4 separate regions of the Homo sapiens genome follow, and regions 1, 2 and 4 are each linked to region 3. The links are contacts of gene promoters, found by promoter capture Hi-C in blood cells and fetal thymus (Javierre and others, 2016). All regions are on one chromosome and are shown on one strand. Each heading gives the region's core, a stretch centred on a gene start or on the middle of the fragment in contact. The rest is flanking DNA. Distances are from core to core; before and after follow the strand shown.

What was found. The method cuts DNA at HindIII sites, captures the fragments that hold promoters and counts their contacts. A CHiCAGO score of 5 or more calls a contact.
Region 1: a fragment that was not itself captured here is called in contact with the fragment with the promoter of SMDT1 in region 3 in 1 of 17 cell types (naive B cells); the score reaches 5.2 in naive B cells.
Region 2: a contact is called between a fragment that was not itself captured here and the fragment with the promoter of SMDT1 in region 3, in 11 of 17 cell types (M2 macrophages, M0 macrophages, endothelial precursors and 8 more). The highest score is 11.2, in M2 macrophages.
Region 4: a contact is called between a fragment that was not itself captured here and the fragment with the promoter of SMDT1 in region 3, in 2 of 17 cell types (activated CD4 T cells and neutrophils). The highest score is 5.4, in activated CD4 T cells.

The regions. Positions count from the first base shown.
Region 1 is chr22:41,691,526-41,696,481 of GRCh38, forward strand. It overlaps the pseudogene C22orf46P. Among named protein-coding and RNA genes, the nearest start is that of SNU13, 5.1 kb to the left of the region's middle. The HindIII fragment of the contact is 7,463 bases long and covers 1-4,956 here.
Region 2 is chr22:42,470,807-42,475,335 of GRCh38, forward strand. No RefSeq gene overlaps it. Among named protein-coding and RNA genes, the nearest start is that of NFAM1, 41 kb to the left of the region's middle. The HindIII fragment of the contact is 2,851 bases long and covers 1,493-4,343 here.
Region 3 is chr22:42,077,213-42,081,935 of GRCh38, forward strand. SMDT1 (single-pass membrane protein with aspartate rich tail 1) reads left to right here and starts at 2,488. Exons shown (of 3, transcript NM_033318.5): 1 at 2,488-2,742; 2 at 4,713-4,723. The coding sequence starts at 2,557. PHETA2 (PH domain containing endocytic trafficking adaptor 2) reads left to right here. Exons shown (of 3, transcript NM_001002034.3): 3 at 68-2,226. The coding sequence starts at 82. The coding sequence ends at 861. RefSeq lists enhancers at 430-992, 2,233-3,005 and a silencer at 1,913-2,207. The HindIII fragment of the contact is 3,809 bases long and covers 2,211-4,723 here.
Region 4 is chr22:42,373,866-42,378,777 of GRCh38, forward strand. No RefSeq gene overlaps it. Among named protein-coding and RNA genes, the nearest start is that of LINC01315, 7.1 kb to the left of the region's middle. The HindIII fragment of the contact is 4,953 bases long and covers 462-4,912 here.

The sequences.
Region 1 (4,956 bases), core at 1,575-4,074, 390 kb before region 3:
GGCCTCCCAAAGTGCTGGGATTACAGGTGTGAGCCACTGTGCCTGGCCTCTTTTTTCTCTCTTTTAAAAAAAAAAATTGGTCCAAGGATAATACACACACACAATTACAAGTGTGTAGATCAGTAAATTTTCATAATTGAATACATCAGTTTGTAGCATGCAGATTAAGAAACAAATGATTACCAGCAGCCCAGAAGTTTTAGTCACAACTCTGCGGATTTCCTTTTCTTTTCCTTTTTTTTTTTTTGAGATGCAGTTTTGCTCTTGTTGCCCAGGCTGGAGTGCAATGGTGTGATCTCGGCTTACCTCAACCTCTGCCTCCCAAGTTCAAGCAATTCTCCTGCCTCAGCCTCCTGAGTAGCTGGGATTATGGGCATGCACTACCACACCCGTTAATTTTGTATTTTTAGTAGAGGCGAGGTTTCTCCGTGTTAGTCATGCTGGTCTCGAACTCCCGTCCTTATGTGATCCGCCTGCCTTGGCCTCCCAAAGTGCTGGGATTACAGGAATGAGCCACCACTCCTAGCCAACTCTGCAGATTTCTTTCTTGTTTTTCTTTTTTTTCTTTTCTTTTTTTTTTTTTTTTGAGATGGAGTCTTGCTGTGTGGCCCAGGCTAAAGTCCAGTGGTGCGATCTCGGCTCACAGCAACCTCTGCCTCCCAGGTTCAAGTGATTCTCTTGACTCTGCCTCCCTAGTAGCTGGGATTACAGGCATGTGCCACCACGCACAGCTAATTTTTGTATTTTTAGTAGACACAGGGTTTCACCATGTTGGTCTGGCTGGTCTCGAACTCCTGACCTCAAGTGATCCACCCACCTTGGCCTCCCAAAGCGTTGGGATTACAGGTGTGAGCCACCACGCCTGGTCGACTCTGGATTTCTTTCTTTCTTTCTTTCTTTCTTTGAGACGGAGTCTTGCTCTGTCACCCAGACTGGAGTGCAGTGGCGCGATCTCGGCCCACTGAAAGCTCCACCTCCCGGGTTCATGCCATTCTCCTGCCTAAGCCTCCTGAGTAGCTGGGACTACAGGTGCCCGCCACCATGCCTGGCCAATTTTTTTTTTTTTTTTGTATTTTTAGTAGAGACGGGGTTTCATCGTGTTAGCCAGGATGGTCTCAATCTCCTGACCTTGTGATCCGCCCACCTCGACCTCCCAAAGTGCTGGGATTACAGGCGTGAGCCAGTGCACCCAGCCTCTTCTTTTTTTTTTTTTTTCAGATGGAGTCACGCTCTGTCACCCAGGCTGGACTGCAGTGGCGTGATCTTGGCTCACTGCAACCTCCGCCTCCTGGGTTCAAGCAATTCTTGTGCCTCAGCCTCCTGAGTAGCTGGGATTACAGGCATGCGCCATGATGGCTGGCTAATTTTTGTATTTTTAGTAGAGAAGGGGTTTTGCCATGTTGGCCAGGCTGGTCTGGAACTCCTGACCTCAAGTGATCCACCCATCTTGGCCTCCCAAAGTGCTGGGATTACAGACATGAGCCACCATGCCCTGCCATCAGAACAAACTTTTAGAAACAGAACATAGCACTTAGCTGCTCAAAACCCTGCAATGGCTCCTATACTTACATTATCTGGCAAACTCAGAATAAAATTCTCGCTCCTAATCACGACTCTAAGGACCAGCATAATCTGTCCCATGTTTGTCTCCGATCTTATCTCCCAGTGCTCTCCTCATTACTGGTTCCATTCTGGCCACACAGTCTTCTTTGCTGTTCCTGTACATGTAATTTTGTTCCATCCTCAAGCCTTTGTACTTAATGTCTCTTCTGCCTACAACGCTCTTTCCTCAGATGTCACTTGGTTTGCCCCTTACTTCATTCAGGCTCCAGTCAAATGTCACTTCCTCCAAGAAGCCTTTCCTGACTATTCTGTCTGTGCGGATTATGCAAGTTATTATGTGTGCAAGGATTTTGCTTCTCTGTTCTCATCTACAGGTGCCACTGCAGAAGCGGGCAGTGCCCTCCATGAGGTGCGAAACTGTCTTCAAGCTGACTCCTGAATTCTTCAGTCCTGGAAAGTCCAGGGGCCTAGATTCTCAACAATGCGCACAAAGGCAGAGATGGGGATACCGGAGGAGCCTCCAGGAATCATGGGCCCAGAACCTGCTCTCTCCACAGCACCCATGTCCAGGCCCACCTTCGGGTGTCCACACCCACTCTGAGCCCATCTTTTGTACCACCTCCATTTCAAACACCTGTTTACTGCCTCAGAACAGTTCCTGGAAAGCATGGCAGGTGCCTTGGTGTCTCCATGATGGTCAGACTCGCCCTGCCTTGGACATGTGTCAAGAGATGGAGCAGCTGCTGCTTCACTCACAGGAAAGGTTGGTGTCACTGGAGCCTGTCATCAGTGTGAGGTCTCGCCCCACCTCCATGACCTTAACCACCTCTCTTCCAAACTTACTTTCAGCTGAGAGGCTGCAGTTCTGCCCCCAGAGAGCTCCTGCCTGATCCTTCCCACCAAACACTGAGAATGTGCACTTGGAAGTCTTGGCACTGTCGACCAGAGGCCTGGGAACCAGGGGGTAAAAACCAGAAAGCAGGCAGAGAGGATAGTAGAGAGACCCAGGCTCCAAGGTGGGTGAACCAGACAGGGAGCAGACGGGAGGATGCTTCAGAAATCCAGGCATCTGGGGAGTAGTTCCCAGTAGACTTTGGAATGGAGGGTGATGCAGAGACTAACGTGTTGGAGTGTGCAAACCAGAGACTAGTAATAAGTGAAACTGATGGCGAGATCTTGACACCAGGGTGGGACACCCAGGACCGGATGGGAGTTGAGAGTAGAACCAACATTCAGGAACTAGGGAATAGAAACCAGAGGGAGGCTGGAGGTGAGAATCTCCCTGAAACCCAGGCACATATGGGAGAGAACCAAGAACAGTTAAGATGTAAAATTGATGCAGAGACCCAAACACCTGAGTGGGAGAACCAGGATAAGAATGGAAGTGAGGATGCTGTGGAGACCCAGACATTTGAGAAGAAGGACAAGAAAGAGGCTGGAGAGGAGGATGGGGAAGAGATCCAGGCTCAAGGATTGGGGAAGCAAGGCCAGACTGGAGATGAGAATGGTGAGGAGACCCAGACACCACAGTGGGAGAAACAAGATCAGATGAAAGGTGATGCGGATGTGGAAATTCAGATGGAAGAGGGGAGAAACAAGGATCAGGTTGGAGGTCAGGATGCTGCACAAACCCAATCATGTGGGAGGGAGAACGTGGGAGAAGTAAAAAAAGAGAATAGTGTAGAGACCCAGGCCTTGGATTGGGGAAAACAGGAATGTGTTGGAAATGGGAATGTTACAGAGATCCAGACACCAAGGTGGGAGAAGCATGATCAAGGTGGAAGTAAGAAAGCTAAGAAGACCCAAGCATCTGGGGGAGAGAACCAGAAACAATTAAGTCATGAAATTCAAGTGGGGTGGGGAAATAAGGGCCTGAGAAGAGATGAAGATGCTAAGGAAACCCAGATAGCTACCAAGAAGAAGCTCAGGGAGATAAGAGAAGGATTGGGTGGTGATCCAGGCACTATGGTGGGGAAACCGGAGACAAGTAGCAAGTGAAATTTATAGAGAATTTGAGATACTATGTTGGGAGAATCAGAACTGGATTGGAGGTGAACATAGAGCAGAAATTCAGGCATCAGAGAAGAGAGACCAAAGAAAGGATGGATGTGAGGATGGCACAAATATCCTGGCACCCGAGGCTGAGATCCAGGAACAATTAAAAGGTGAAACTGATGTGGAGACTCAGAGCAATGAGCCACTTAGAGAAGAGGATGGTACAGACATTCAGTCACTAGGGAGGAGAGAGGTTAAAGGTGAGGATGATAAAGACACCCAGGAACTTGGGAGGAAAAATCAGGGTCAGTTAGGAAATGAATTTAGTGGAAAGATTCACATACCAAAGGGGAAGAATCAGGAACATATTAGAGGCGAAGATGGTGCACATACCCAGATATCTGAGTCAGGGAACTGGGGCAAATTAACAAGTCAAATTGATGGAGAAATGCATTCAGCAGAATGGAAGAAAGATCAGCAGATTGGAGGTGAGAATGGGGCAGAAATTCAGATACAAGGGAAGAGAAACCTGAGAGAAGTTGGAGGTGAGGACGGTGTAAAGACCTGGGCACCTGGGAAAGAAACCCAGAGTCAGTTTAGAAGTGATCTTGGTAGAAAGATCCTTTTATCAGAGTGGAAGAGCCAGAAGCAGATGGGAAGTGAGAATGGAACAGAAATTCAGGCTCCAGTGGAGAGAAACCAGAGAGAACCTGGAGGTGAGGACGGTGTAAAGACTCAGAGACCTAAGAGAGAGAACGAGGACCAGTTAGATAGTGAAATTGGAGGGAGCCATTCACCAGGGAGGAGGAACTGGGAGCTGATTGGAAAGGATGTTGCAGAAAATCAGGCATCAGAGAAGAGAAACCAGAGAGAGGTTGGAAACGAGGACGGTAGAATGATCTGGAGGCTTAGGGGAAAAAACTGGAGGCTTAGAGCGAAGAAACAGACTGTTAAAAAGTAAAGATAATGGAAAGACCCGTTTATCAGAGTGGAAGAACCAGGAACAGGGTGGAGGTGGGAATGATGAAGAAATTCAAATACAGGGGAAGAGAAACCTGAGAGGGACCACAGCTGATGATGGTACAGAGACCCAGGCTCCTGCAGGAGATGACCAGGGACAGTTAAGAGTTGAAATTGCTGAAGAGATCCAGGTACAAGGGCAAGGAAATAAGAATGACGGTGGAGTTGAGGATGTTGCAGAACTCCAGGATATAGGAAGCCAGAGAAAGTGCACAGATGAGGATGTTGGAGAGCCTCGAGCACCAAGGGGAGGAAACAAGGATCTGGTCAGAGGAGAGGATGCTGTGAGGGACAGTCTCCAAGTCGACTGTTCTGGGAGTGAGAGGCCCACAGGCAGGAAGCACAGCCTACCATGGCCTCCAGCCTTCACTGGCTATG
Region 2 (4,529 bases), core at 1,668-4,167, 390 kb after region 3:
CTCTTGCCTCTATACCTTTGATTAGGCTGTTTTCTCAGCTCCAAATGCCCTTCCTCTCCTTTGCAACCTGTGAGGTTTGGCTAAAATGTAACCTCCTTTGGCTGTTACTGCCAAGAGCACAGCCAGTATCCATTCTGCCCCACTTCCTTAAGAATAGAACCACGATTTTGTTCTAATATGGTCCTTTTAAAATGACTACAACTATCGTATTATATTCCCAGCTCCCTCTGTATCTCAGGGTGGCCAAGTGACACAGTTTTGGACAATGAGATACAGGCTGAAGTTTGCTAGGTTTATTAATTATCGATGCATATCAAAGTATCCCAAAACTTAGTGGTTTAAAGCAATGGATGCTTTTATTATCTCACGATTTTTGTGGGTCAAGAATTTGGGAGTGGCTTATCTGGGTGGTTCTGGTTCAAGATCTTAATGAGGTTGCAGTCAAGGTGTCCACTGGGGCTGCAGTCATCCGAAGGCTTGACTAGATCTGGAGGATCTTCTTCCAAGGAGGTTTACTCATGTGGCTGTTGGCAAGAAGTCTCCTGTTGTCTGGATGCAAGTCATGGTACATGTAAGACGCTTTAAGAGTTTTTATTGTTGGCATCAAGGAAAAAAGTATGACCTCTTCCTTTGCCTATCTCCAATCCCTTTTATCCCCATTTTATTTTTGATCTATCCACCCATGTACTCATCCACTACCCATCTACCCACCCATCCATCCACCCACCCATCCATCCATCCACTCACCCATCCAGCCAACAACTCACTCATCCACCCATCCACTCATCCACCAACCTTTCACCCACCTACCCACCTATCCACTTACCCACCCACCCATCCTTTCACCCATCCACCCATCCATCCACCCACACACATATCCATCCATCCATCCATCCATCCATCCACCATCCACCCACCCATCCACACACTCATCCACCTATCCATCTATCCAATAGTTTCTGGGAGCGTATAAAGTGCCAGGCACAATATTTAGGCACTTGACATAAAAAGTGAGTAAGATTTGTGCCCTTCCTTTAAGTAATTCCTCTCTATTTAGGATGACAGATATGGAACAATTCTAGTACATTTGTGATAAGTGCTATGCTACAAGTAAAAGAGGGATACTATCTTTTTTTTTTTTTTCGAGACAGGGTTTCACTCTGTAACCCAGGCGGGAGTGCAGTGGTGCAATCTTGGCTCACTGCAACCTCCATCTCCTGGGTTCAAGCGATTCTCGTGCCTCAGCCTCCCGAGTAGCTGGGATTACAGGTGTGTGCCACCATGCCAGGCTCTTTTTTTTTTTTTTCTTTTTGGTATTTTTAGTAGAGACAGGGTTTCACTATGTTGGCCAGACTGGCCTCGAACTCCTGACCTCAAATGACCTGCCCACCTCAGCCTCCCAAAGTGCTGGGATTACAGGCATGAGCCACCGCACCTGGCCAGATACTATCTTAGATGTATTAATATTTTTTCCTTCTCTTATTCAGTCAGAAGCTTCTGTTGGCCTCAAGGATAATTATGATTTTCATAGTAGGTAGGTGATGAGAAAGAAAGACGCTTTCACTTTTAAGTATTAAGACTGACTCCAAGTGCATGTGATTCGGTAGTCTTGAAACTGAGCTTTCAGAGAAAAAAGAGATTTTCTAAATTCCAAAGGCTCTGCTTTAAGACGTAAATAACAGAATCCTGGACTTGGATTATAAGCAGTGCACAGGGTCTGAAGGTGTGACTTAGGGAAGTTCCCATCAGTAGGAAGACACAGGAGATCAGATGTCAGCGTCCTGATTCCCTCCTCGGGGTTAACACAGTGGTAGCAAGGCCTGCGGTGAGCATGGCAGCAGAACGACAGGGGCTGCTCAGGCATGCTTTGGAAATGGCCAGGAAAGGGTCTAGGACAGTGGCCTGGAAGGCAGCCTCACAGATCTAGTGTGAGGCTACACCCAGCCTACACTCTCTAGTGTGGAGTGGGAAAAGCAGCCCAGGCCCTGATGAATCAAAAGACTGAGATTGGGGTACAGAGGCCAGGCTGGGAGCCCTGGGCTGGAGGTTGAGAATAATGCATGATGGTATCGCCTCGTGGACACCAGGACGGAAGGTCCAGGAACCGCCCTGGCCATGGCTGAGAGGCAGGAGCCAGGAGGGTGCCCTAGTTACCCCGCACCCTAGCAGCATCTCAGAAAGGAGCAGGGAGAGACACTTGATCGGAACTTGAACCTGAACTTGAACTTTAATCTTGACGCGTTAATGAGGAAGGGAGTTTTGGAAGACTGAAGAGGCTGAGTTAGCTCTGATGAGCATGTTCCTGGTGTTATTTCCTTTCTCTCTTTTGCCGTGAGCAAGAGTGGGGACTTGCGAGCTCAAGGGAATCAGTTATAGACCATTTTTAGTTCTATTTCTGTGCACATCTGCCTGCATACAGCATAAAGATTTTTACCCTGGTTGAGGCGTGCACGGGATGCTGGGATTACAGGCGTGAGCCACCGTACCCACCTGACCCTAAATTATTTTTGGTTCCTCCAATCCAACTTTCTTCCATAGAATACTAAGAATGGGAATTGCTCTGTTCCTAAGGCACTATAAGCTGAAACTAAATGAATTTTAAGGGATGAGTCTTGTGTGTGATCTATGGACCATATAGAAAGTTCACTGGACTGCCTCATGCCATGAGCAGAGACAGTCTAACTGTAAACCAGGACAAGCAGTTGATGGCTTCATGCTGTGGGTGGCTTTTCCCAAGACAACAGAACAAGAGTCCCCATCATGAGCCTCTTGTCCCTCTTAATTCTTCCCTGCTTATGCCAATTTTTTCCACTTGGCAGGATAATGATGCAACTGAAACTTCCCAATCAGTAGCTTCTGCTGGTAACTTGACAGAACCTGACCTAAGAGATCCTTTAGGCCACCTAGTGGGTAACTTTGGCAACATCCCTAATAGAACTGTTGTTCACTCGGCTTTAATGCATCCCAGTTGTGGGATACTAGATGATGAATTTGCTCTATATTATTTATTGGTTGGATAAGGAAATGTCTGTGCTATTGCTAATACTACATGCCACACCTGGATAAATTTCTTTGGGGAAGTTGAGACCCAAATACACAAAATAAGAAAACAAGTCACTTGGTTACAACAGGTCTCATCTAATTCTCCATGGTCATTCGATTTATTCAATGTATTCCCTTTAAGTCTAGGTTCATAGCTCAAAACCATTATGCAAACTAGGGTTACCATTTTTATTTATTTATTTATTATTTATTTATTTATTTATTTATTTATTTATTTATTTATTTTTGAGACAGAGTTGCGTGCTGTCACCCAGACTGGAGTGTAGTGACACGATCTCAGCTCACTGCAACCTCCGCCTCCTGGGTGTGAATCCTCCTGCCTCAGCCTCCCGAGAAGCTGGGACTACAGGCATGCACCACCACGTCCAGCTAATTTTTTTTTTTTTTTTGAGCCGGAGTCTTGCTCTATCACCCAGGCTGGAGTGCAGTGGCTATATCTCGGCTCACTGCAAGCTCTGCCTCCTGGGTTCACGCCATTCTCCTGCCTCAGCCTCCCGAGTAGCTGGGACTACAGGTGCCTGCCACCATGCCCAGCTAATTTTTTGTATTTTTTTTTTTTTTAGTGGAGATGGGGTTTCACCGTGTTAGCCAGGATGGTCTTGATCTCCTAACCTCGTGATCTGCCCTCCTCAGCCTCCCAAAGTGCTGGGATTACAGGCGTGAGCCACCGCGCCCAGCCACGTCCAGCTAATTTTTTGTAGAGACAGGATTTCACCATGTTGCCCAGGCTGGTCTCAAACTCCTGGGCTCAAGAGATCCACCCACTTCAGACTCCCAAAGTGCTGGGATTACAGGTGTGAGCCACTGCACCTGGCTATCCCTTCTCTTAGAAGGATGAATCAGTCTATTCAGTAAATTTAAAAGGTGACTGGGGCTGGGCGTGGTGGTTCACATCTGTAATTCCAGCACTGTGGGAGGCCGAGGCAGGTGGATCACCTGAGGTCAGGAGTTCGAGACCAGTATGACCAACACGGTGAAACCCCATCTCTACTAATAATACAAAAATTAGCCAGGTGTGGTGGTGCACAACTGTAATCCCAGCTACTCTGGAGGCTGACGCAGGAGAATCACTTGAACCCAGGAAGTGGAGGTTGCAGTGAGCCGAGATCGCACCAGTCACTCCAATAGAGTGAGACTCTGTCTCAAAAAAAAAAAGAAAAAGTGACCTTATGAATGGGTAACAATTGCCTGTGTCTTACAGCCAGATCTCAAACAACTTCGTGAACAAATCTACAAGAATCACACATTGTTAAAACACAGCCATCTCACACACAGAATCAAGCTTGTGTTTGACAATGGCATGGAAATCACACTAATTATGATGACCTAGGCTGGGAGAGAAAACCAGTGCACCTGCACTATCTGATCCCAGCCTCCCTCTGAGCCTCACCTGGGGTCACTCTTCCCCTTAGTGTGCTGTAGCCACTCTAGATCCCACCTGCTCCTAAACACACCCATCTCTTCTC
Region 3 (4,723 bases), core at 1,238-3,737:
GCTGTTCCCCAGGAGGGCACGGAACCACCTCCCTCTCTGATCTGCTGCCATCTCTCTTGCCTCACAGTTCCCGTGGGAGCCATGAAGCTGAACGAGAGGAGTGTAGCCCACTATGCACTCAGCGACTCCCCAGCGGACCACATGGGCTTCCTGCGCACCTGGGGGGGCCCAGGGACCCCACCGACCCCCAGTGGCACTGGCCGAAGATGCTGGTTTGTCCTCAAGGGCAACCTGCTATTCTCCTTTGAGAGTCGCGAGGGCCGGGCCCCACTGAGCCTGGTGGTGCTGGAAGGCTGCACAGTGGAACTGGCCGAGGCTCCCGTGCCCGAGGAGTTTGCCTTTGCCATCTGCTTTGATGCCCCTGGAGTGCGCCCACACCTGCTGGCCGCAGAAGGGCCGGCGGCCCAGGAGGCCTGGGTGAAGGTGCTGTCCCGGGCAAGCTTTGGCTACATGCGCCTGGTGGTACGCGAGTTGGAGAGCCAGTTGCAGGACGCACGCCAGAGCCTGGCTTTGCAACGCCGCTCATCCTGGAAGTCTGTTGCCAGCCGCTGTAAGCCCCAGGCTCCTAACCACCGAGCTGCGGGCCTGGAGAATGGCCACTGCCTCTCCAAGGACAGCAGCCCTGTGGGCTTGGTTGAAGAAGCGGGCAGCAGGTCTGCAGGGTGGGGGTTGGCTGAGTGGGAGCTGCAGGGCCCTGCCAGCCTCCTCCTAGGCAAGGGGCAGAGCCCTGTGTCCCCTGAGACCTCCTGCTTCTCTACCCTGCATGACTGGTATGGCCAGGAGATCGTGGAGCTGCGGCAGTGTTGGCAGAAGAGGGCCCAGGGGAGCCACTCAAAATGTGAGGAACAGGATAGGCCCTAAGTCTGGGCCCTTTGAGTCAGGAAACCAGGGCCAGTTCTTTTTCAGGAGTTAAATGTTTACCCATTTCCAAGGTTGCGTTTTGGGAGGGGACATGGGTTCTCTCCTTCCTGCTATTTAGGCATTCTCCAGGTTCGAGATCCACCCGTGTGTCTGGAAGGGACTGCGGGACCATTCCTTCCATCCTCTTTATTTCCTGAGGTCCAGAGAAGGAAGGAGACTTAGCAGCCACAGAGCAAGACCCCAATCTCCTGACTGCACTGGCCTGACTGCCCCCTCCCAGGGGATGTTAATGAAATGAAGGAAGTGGGGAATGTCACCCGAGACTGTCACAGGCTTGCCATACCTTTGGCCTACACACCGGGCTCTAGAGCCATAATTTCCAACCTGGGGAGTCTCCTGTGCACTTAAATCCGAGGTAGGCTGCAGTATCGGCTTGAAGCTCTGACACTGTCAGAGAAAGTGGATTTATTGTGTCATAGGAGTTTCTGGGACCCAGCTCTTCCTGAGAGGGGTGGGAAGATTGGGGATGGGATCCTCACTCAGCAGTCTGGGTAGGGCCCTTTGAGGCAGAGGGTCTTCGGCCAGTGAAGAGAGATTTATTCTGCTCAGAGTGCTGGGGTCCCATCCTTTCTCCCTGGCTGCCCTGTTAACAGATGGTGCTGGACCTTGCCCCGGAAGGGGCTTGTAGCTTTTTTACGTCAACGAAATGCCCTCCTGTACTCTGTCTTCAGCAGCCAACTCCTGGAGCTGCCAAGTGAGGGGTTAAAGAAGAGGTGGGGAGGCAGTGTGGCTCCCTGGGAAAAGTCTGTTGCTTTGGTTCTCAGTCCTGGGTATTCTAGGAGCTTGGACACGGGATTGCGTTTCCTGTGCTAAAATTCTCTCTCCTGGCTGGGCTCCGGTAAACTGAAGCTGCTCGAGAAATCACCTGGGAACTCTCATAGCCGTTTGTCACCCAGGGTGTACTTGCCAGGACCTCTCCTTGCTACTCTTCCCAAAGTCGGGAGGCAAAGCGGCTGGGTCACCAGAGCCTGACCATACTGACGCTCCAGGGGGAAGACGCAGAGGCCGGGAAGAGACACCCCCTCCCAAACACATAAAACTTGCCCCTTCCTAGCCTCGGCTCCCCTCACTGGGGCCTTGGGCAGGACCGACCCGCATCCAACTAGGCCTAAGGGGTAGGCTCTGAGCCTCTTACCCCTAAGAGGCGGAGATGCGCCCAAGGCGGGCGCCCGGCCTGTTCCCCAGCCCTGCCTGGAAGCCCCGCAGCCACTGCATTTTGTTTAAACACAGATAGCACGGGCCTTTCTCTTATTGCTACAGTGTTTTGTACACGGTTAAAACACTAGTAAAGCTTTTTCGTTATTACTCCTTCCGCTCCCTGGGTTTATTTCCACAACCGGCCGCTGAGGCCTGTTCTGACGGCCGGGCGGACCCAAGACCGCGGCCACGCCCAGCAGGACGCGGACTGAGGGAGCCGGGGCTGCGCCGCCACTCTCGTGACGCCACCATGCCGGCCAGTGACAAACACCTCCCTCCCGCCGCCCCAGGAGCCGCCGGCACTGCGCGAGTGGGAGGGCTGGGCTTCTCGTGTACTCCTCAAACTCTCGCGAGGCTTCGGGCGGCTTTCTTCCCGAGGGCGGCACGAGGGCTGGGCGGTGGGGTGCGGGTGCCCGGGTGAGGGGCGGAGCTGGGGGCATGGCGTCCGGAGCGGCTCGCTGGCTAGTATTGGCACCCGTCAGGTCCGGGGCTCTCCGGAGCGGGCCTAGCTTGAGGAAAGATGGCGATGTCTCCGCCGCATGGAGCGGCTCAGGCCGGAGCCTGGTACCGTCGAGGTCAGTCATCGTTACCCGCAGCGGCGCCATTTTGCCCAAACCGGTGAAAGTGAGTGTCCTCCTGGAGACGGGGCGAAGGGGCTGAGGCCAATCATTGTGGGGAGTGCGTGAGGGCGGCGCTGATTGATAGGAGCCAAGGCCAATCATAACGATTACCGTAGACTGGAAGGCGGACCAAGAATACGCTAATGAGTTGCTAATTTTGACAGGTGTGTAGAAAATGGTAGGTAGACAGAAGATGGGGGGCAAACGCTGAGGAAGTTGGCCTTTTACATTAGCTTGTCCTGAGAGGTGCGGTGCTCTGCTCCTCTGGAGTCAGAAGACTAGGCCGTGTGCTTCTAGCTTAGAGCAGTCCTGTAATCTCTGCCCTGCCTGTCTCCTAGTTTATGGGATGAAATATGAATTTTGAAAGGACTCTGTAAATAAAGGGTACGTGGGACGGGCCTCATCTTTTTATTAGTTGTCACCTAATATTTAATTCATGTGATTTACAGTCCTGATAGATGTGCAGGGAATTATTACAATCACGGGTTTTCAAATGAAGAATCGGGCTAGAGCGGTGAAGCTCGTATCCAAGGCCAGCGCTGAGGACGCAGCATCCGGGTTTCTTCCTGGTACCGTCCCCACCAGGTCCTGTCTTTTTCCAACACTGAACGCTATCACATGCTTGAGTTTTTCTAGGGAAAACGGAAACAGTCCCTTATATCAAGCGAAAGTTTGCTTTACGACTGCAGGGCTGTGTGGTGTGGGAGTTAAAAAAACAAATTCTCTTAAAGCTAGTCTAGCCTATGCTAACTCACACAATTGACTGTAGGTCCATGTTGGGAAAGACCTGCCTTATCAAAACAGTTGAAAAAAAAATTTTTTTAATTCTAGGAATACGAGAGAAATGTTGCTGAGATTTTACTGACATTCTCCCAATCCATCTAAAGTCTTTGAGTGTAAATACATGCCCACTTTCAAATACATCTGTTTCTAAAATTTTTAAATCAAATTTCTCAGGCATCAGGGAACCTGTTACTTAGTGAACTGTGTAGAATATCCCTTCACTGTACATCTTTCTGTCATCGGTTTTCGTGTATTTCGTGTTCAGGCAGAGCTCACCGTAGTCTGGCCCTCCTAGTACTGGTGCACCCGATTGCCTGTAGGGATTTAAAGTAATTAGCAGGCTGTGTCCTAACTTTAGATGTCTAGGGTGCCTTAGACTTTTCTTTCCAGTGGACTTTTCGTCCATTTTGATGGCCATAACAGTCACCTTATCTCCTTTTTTTTTTTTTTGAGACGGAGTCTCACTCTGTCACCCAGGCTGGAGTACAGTGGCACAATCTTGGCTCACTGCAGCCTCCGCCTCCCGGGTTCAAGTGATTCTTCTGCCTCAGCCTTCTGAGTAGCTGGGACTACAGGCATGTACCACCACACCCGGCTAATTTTTTGTATTTTTAGTAGAGACGGGGTTTCACTATGTTAGCCAGGCTGATTTCGAACTTCTGACCTCGTGATCCGCCCGCCTCAGCCTCCCAAAGTGCTGGGATTACAGGTGTGAGCCACTGCGCCCGGCCTTTTGTCTTTTTTTTAGACAGAGCCTCACTCTGTCTCCCAGGCTGGAGTGGAATGGTGCAATCTTGGCTCACTGCAACTTCTGCCTCCTGGATTCAAGCAATTATCCTGCCTCAGCCTCCCGAGTAGCTGGGATTACAGGTGCGCACCACCATGCTGGGTCAATTTTTTGTATTTTTAGTAGAGACGGGATTTCACCATGTTGGCCAGGCTGGTCTCAAGCTCCTGACCTCAGGTGGTCCACCCACCTCAGCCTCCCAAAGTGCTGGGATTAAAGGTGTGAGCCACCCTGCCTGGCCTTCTCCTTTTCTAATTACTTTTCTTGCCCTGAATTTTTCCAAGGACTTTAAAATCAAGTTGCTTATGATGGGTCTGAGGGTATGTCTGTGAGAGGGCCAGGTCTTCTTTGGTCCTGCCAGAGTGGGCTCTGGAGCTCACAGCTGCCACTCTGACCCTCTGCAGATGTCCTTCGG
Region 4 (4,912 bases), core at 1,688-4,187, 300 kb after region 3:
CAATCTTGGCTCATTGCAACCGCCATCTCCCAGGTTCAAGCGATTCTCCTGCCTCAGCCTCCTGAGTACTGGGACTACAGGCATGCACCACTACACCCAGCTAATTTTTCTATTTTTAGTAGAGACAGGTTTCGCCATGTTGGCCAGGCTGGTCTCAAACTCCTGACTTCAGGTGATCCACCTGCCCTCAGCCTCCCAAAGTGCTGGGATTACAGGCGTGAGCCTGGCCAGTGTCTTCATTTTCTATGGCTGCTGTAACTAATCACCACAAACCTGGTGACTTAAAACAACACACGTTATCCCTATTGAAAAGCCGGGAGAAAAAAGAAAGAAAAAAATTATTTTTTAAAAACCCACAACACGACACACATTTATTTTCTTACAGTTCTCAAGACCGGAAATTCAGAATCAGTTTCAACAGGCAGAAACCAGGGTGTTCACAGGGCCACGTTCCCTCCAGAAGCTTTGAGGAGTATCCGTTTCCTTGCCCTCTCCTGCTTCTGGGGCTCTGTTCCCCGGCTGTGGCCTCTTCTTCCATGTTCAAAACCAGCGGCGTACCATCTTCAGACCTCTTTCTCTGCTTCCATCATCACACCACCTTCTGCCTTTGGTCTGTAATCTCCCTCTGCATCCCCCTTTATAAGGGCGTTTGTGATTGTAATGATCCAGGATAACCTCCTCATCTCCAGATCCTTAATCACATCTGCGGCGCCTTTGTCATATAAGGTAACATTCACAGGTTCCAGGATTAGGATGTGGATATCTTGGCGAGGGTGGGATTCTTCAGGCTACCACAGAAAGCCACCAACCAAAGTGGTTCAGATCATGGATTCTGAAGCCACTGCTGGGGCCTGAATCTCAACTGCACCATCTGCCAGCTAGGTGACTTTGGGCGAGTTGTTATATCTTTTTAAGGCTCAGTTTCCTCATCTGTGAAATGAGATCAATGCCTACTTATTGCCACAGATAAAAACTGAATAGGCATTTAACCATCTGACAGGTAGAGGGAGTTTCATGCGCCAGAGCCTGGACCTTGAAAGAGGCCCCAGCAGGGCCCTTCTGTAGGAGGAAAGGAGGAAGGGCAGGAAAGGGTACGGGCAGGGCAGGCTGGGTGGAGGAAGAAGCTGAACCACGTCCCAGGGAAGTGTGTGTGTGCTCTGTCCTAAGGGTAATGAACAGGGGACAACAGAAAGTGTTTAAGTAGGGCAATTTTTTTTGGTTTATTTTTGTTTTGTGTTATTGAAATGCAATTCACATATTATAAATTTACCCTTTTAAAGTGTACAATTCAATGGATTTTAGCATATTCAAGAGGTTGCGTAACCATCACTGCTGTCGCATTCCAGAACATTTCCATTACCTCATAAAAAATCCCCATACCCATTAGCAGTTCTTTTTTTTTTTTTTTTTTTTGAGACAGAGTCTTGCTCTGTCGCCCAGGCTGGAGTGCAATGGCGCTATCTCGGCTCACTGCAAGCTCTGTCTCCCGGGTTCACGCCACTCTCCTGCCTCAGCCTCCCAAGTAGCTGGAACTACACGGACCCGTCACCACGCCCGGCTAATTTTTTGTATTTTTAGTAGAGGTGGGGTTTCACCGTGTTAGCCAGGATGGTCTCGATCTCCTGACCTCATGATCCGCCCACCTTGGCCTCCCAAAGTGCTGATTACAGGTGTGAGCCACCGTGCCCGGCCAGCAGTTCTTTTTTTTTTTTTTTTTTTTTGAGACAGAGTCTCACTCTGTCGCCCAGGCTGGAGGGCAGTGGCACCCTGTCGGCTCACTGCAACCTCAGTCTCCTGGGTTCAAGCAATTCTCCTGCCTCAGCCTCCTGAGTAGCTGGGATTATAGGCGCCCACCATCACGCCCAGCTAATTTTTATATTTTTAGTAGAGATATGGTTTCACCATGTTGGCCAGGCTGGTCTCGAACTCCTGACCTCGATGATCCACCTGCCTTGGCCTCCCAAAGTGCTAGGATTACAGGCGTGAGCCACCGTGCCCGGCTGTCTGGATAATTTTTGTATTTTTAGTTGCGATAGGGTTTCACCCATGTTGGCCAGGCGTGGGCCACTGCGCCTGGCCCCCATTAGCAGTTCTAAAGCTCTCTGCAACCTTGAACTCCAATCTTGAGCTCCAGGCTTGAACCCAGGAAGAAGGCAGGGGTGCCTTGAGCACCACAATGACCATCTCTATTTCTGGAACTGGTCACTTGGCTGTGGGTCCTACCCTTATCCCTGGGACTCAGCTGCACAGACTTGTCCCAATGGGTCAGGAAGGACAGCAGCTCTCCTGACTCCACCCCCGTCACATGACATGCCAGGGTTCCCCACCCATAAGGGGCAGGAGATTGTGGGGCTGCTGGAGGAAGTTGTGGGGGCATTTGAGGCTGAGTGCTGGCTAAGCAGCAATGGCTTATGCCGGTAATCCCAGCATTTGGGAGGCCAAGGTGGCAGGATCGCTTGAGCTCAGGAGTTTGAGACCAGCCTGGGCAACACGGCAAAACCCGGTCTCTATGAAAAATACAAAAAATTAGCCAGGTGTGATGGTGCGCACCTGTAGTGCCAGCTACTCCGGAGGCTGAGGTAGAGGACCGCTGGAGCACAGAGGTTGAGGCTGCAGTGAGCTGTGATCGCACCACTGCACTCCAGCCTGGATGACAGAGTGAGACCCTGTCTCAAAAAAAAAAAAAAAAAAAAAAAACCAAACCGAAAACACATTAAAATTTTTCTTTTTGGAAAACCATCCAATCAGCCAGAGAGACACAGAAAAAAAGGAGCTTCTCCAGTGCTCCCCACACACCCCCGCCACCACCCCTGGCCGGGCTCTGTTCTGCTGGCTACTTGGGGGAGTCTCAGGCCCTGAATGATCAGGGACATGTGGCCTGGCCTAGAGGCAGCTGAGGCAGGAGGGAGGCCATCTGGTGAGGCGAGAGGTAGCGGTCAGGACATTGCTGAGTCCGCTGAGGCATCCCCTGGCAGTCACAAGGGCTTCTGGGATCAATTAGCAGAACCACCCTAACAGGGCTCATGGCCCCTGACGCAGGCACGTGTCCTCAGAGCCTCTTGACAGCCTTGGCAGCCAGGAATTGAAAGGAGGTGGGGGAGGGGGATGTCGGCCTTTCCCCTGTGCCTGGCCTCGCCTCCAACAGCTCAGCACAGAGCCTCCCCGCCCTCCCCATTAGGCGGAGGCTGCCGGCCTTCCAGAGCCTGCACTTCTTATTGCCTTGCTTCTCCTGGTGTTGTGGGTGCAGCAACAGTCTGCCTCAATTTTCACATATGTAAAATGGGTCATATACTAATTAAAGATCACTTCCTGGAAATAAAAAAAAAAATTATCCCTTTTTCACTAAGAACAGGTGTTGAATCAACAGCAAAGGAAAAGACTCCTTTATTTTTTGAACAAACAGCTCCTAAGCCCCTACTGTGAGTCAGGCACAGACAAAGAGAGACAAATGAGGTGTTTGCCATGCTTGGGAAACACGGGAATTCTGGGGGGAGATGGATGTGTGTGAACTGATTCAGTTTGAAGAGGTCAAAGAAATGAGAGGATTCAGTAAACTGCTTGGTGTGGGAGGGGGCTTTAAGGAAGACTTCACAGTGGAGGTAGCATTTTTTTTTTTTTTTGAGATGGAGTTTTACTCTGTGGCTGATATCTGTGGTATGTGCCACCACACCCGGCTAATTTTTGTATTTTTAGTAGAGATGGGGTTTTGCCATGTTGGCTAGGCTGGTCTCCGACTCCTGACGTGAGGTGATCTGCCTGCCTTGGCCTCCCAAAGTGGTGGGATTGTAGGCGTGAGCCACTGTGCCCAGCTGGAGGTAGCATTTGAGCAGGAATTCCTCAGGCAAAGAATAGGGTGCAGGTCCTCAGGGCAGGGAGAATGGTAGGAGCCCAGACTCAGAGGTGGGGAGCTCAGCATCTTGGGGAACAGCAGCCATAGATGGAAGCATGAATGGAGCTGGGGTGACTTTGGGCCAGTAGGAGCCAATCAGAAATGAGCTGGTGGACTCCATGAAGACAGGACTGTCCATTTCTTATTCCAGCCACAGCACTGGGCTTGACACATAGTTGGAGCGGGACAAATGTTGTTAAAAGAATGAAGGATGGCCAGGTGTGGTGGCTCACACCTGTAATCCCAGCAATTTGGGAGGCTGAGGCAGGCGGATCACTTGAGGTCAGGAGTTTGAGACCATCCTGGCCAACGTGGTGAAACCCTGTCTCTACTAAAAATACAAAAAATTAGCCAGGCGTGGTGGCACTCATCTGTGATCCCAGCTACTTGGGAAGCTGAGGCAGGAGAATTGCTTGAACCTGGGAGACAGAGGTTGCAGTGAGCCAAGATTGCACCACAGCACTCCAGCCTGGGTGATAGGAGGGAAACCCTGTCTCAAAAAAAAAAAAAAAAAAAAAAAAAAAAAAAAGCCAAGCATAGTGGCTCACACCTGTAATCCCAGCATTTTGGGAGGCCGAGGTAGGTGGATTTCTTGAAGTCAGGAGTTTGAGACCAGCCTGGCCAATATGGTGAAACCCCATCTCCACTAAAAATACAAAAAAAATTAGCTGGGCCTGGTGGCACGTGCCTGTAGTCCCAGCTACTCGGGAGGCTGGGGCAGAAGAATTGCTTGAACCCAGGAGGTGGAGATTGCAGTGTGCCCAGATCACACCACTGCACTCCAGCCTGGGCCTCACAGAGAGACTCCATCTCAAAAAAAAAAAAAGAAAGAAAGAAAGAAGAAAAGAAAAAAAAAAGTGAAGGAGTGGTAGGAGTGGTAAGAGCCCTGAATGTGAGACTAAGGGGTTGAGCCCCGATCCTATGGACAGTGGAAACCACTGTGAGTTTTGGTATAGGGTGTGAGGTAGGGGTCATGTAGAGGTTTGGCTCTCCCAGCACCAATTGTTGAAAAGACTGTTCCCC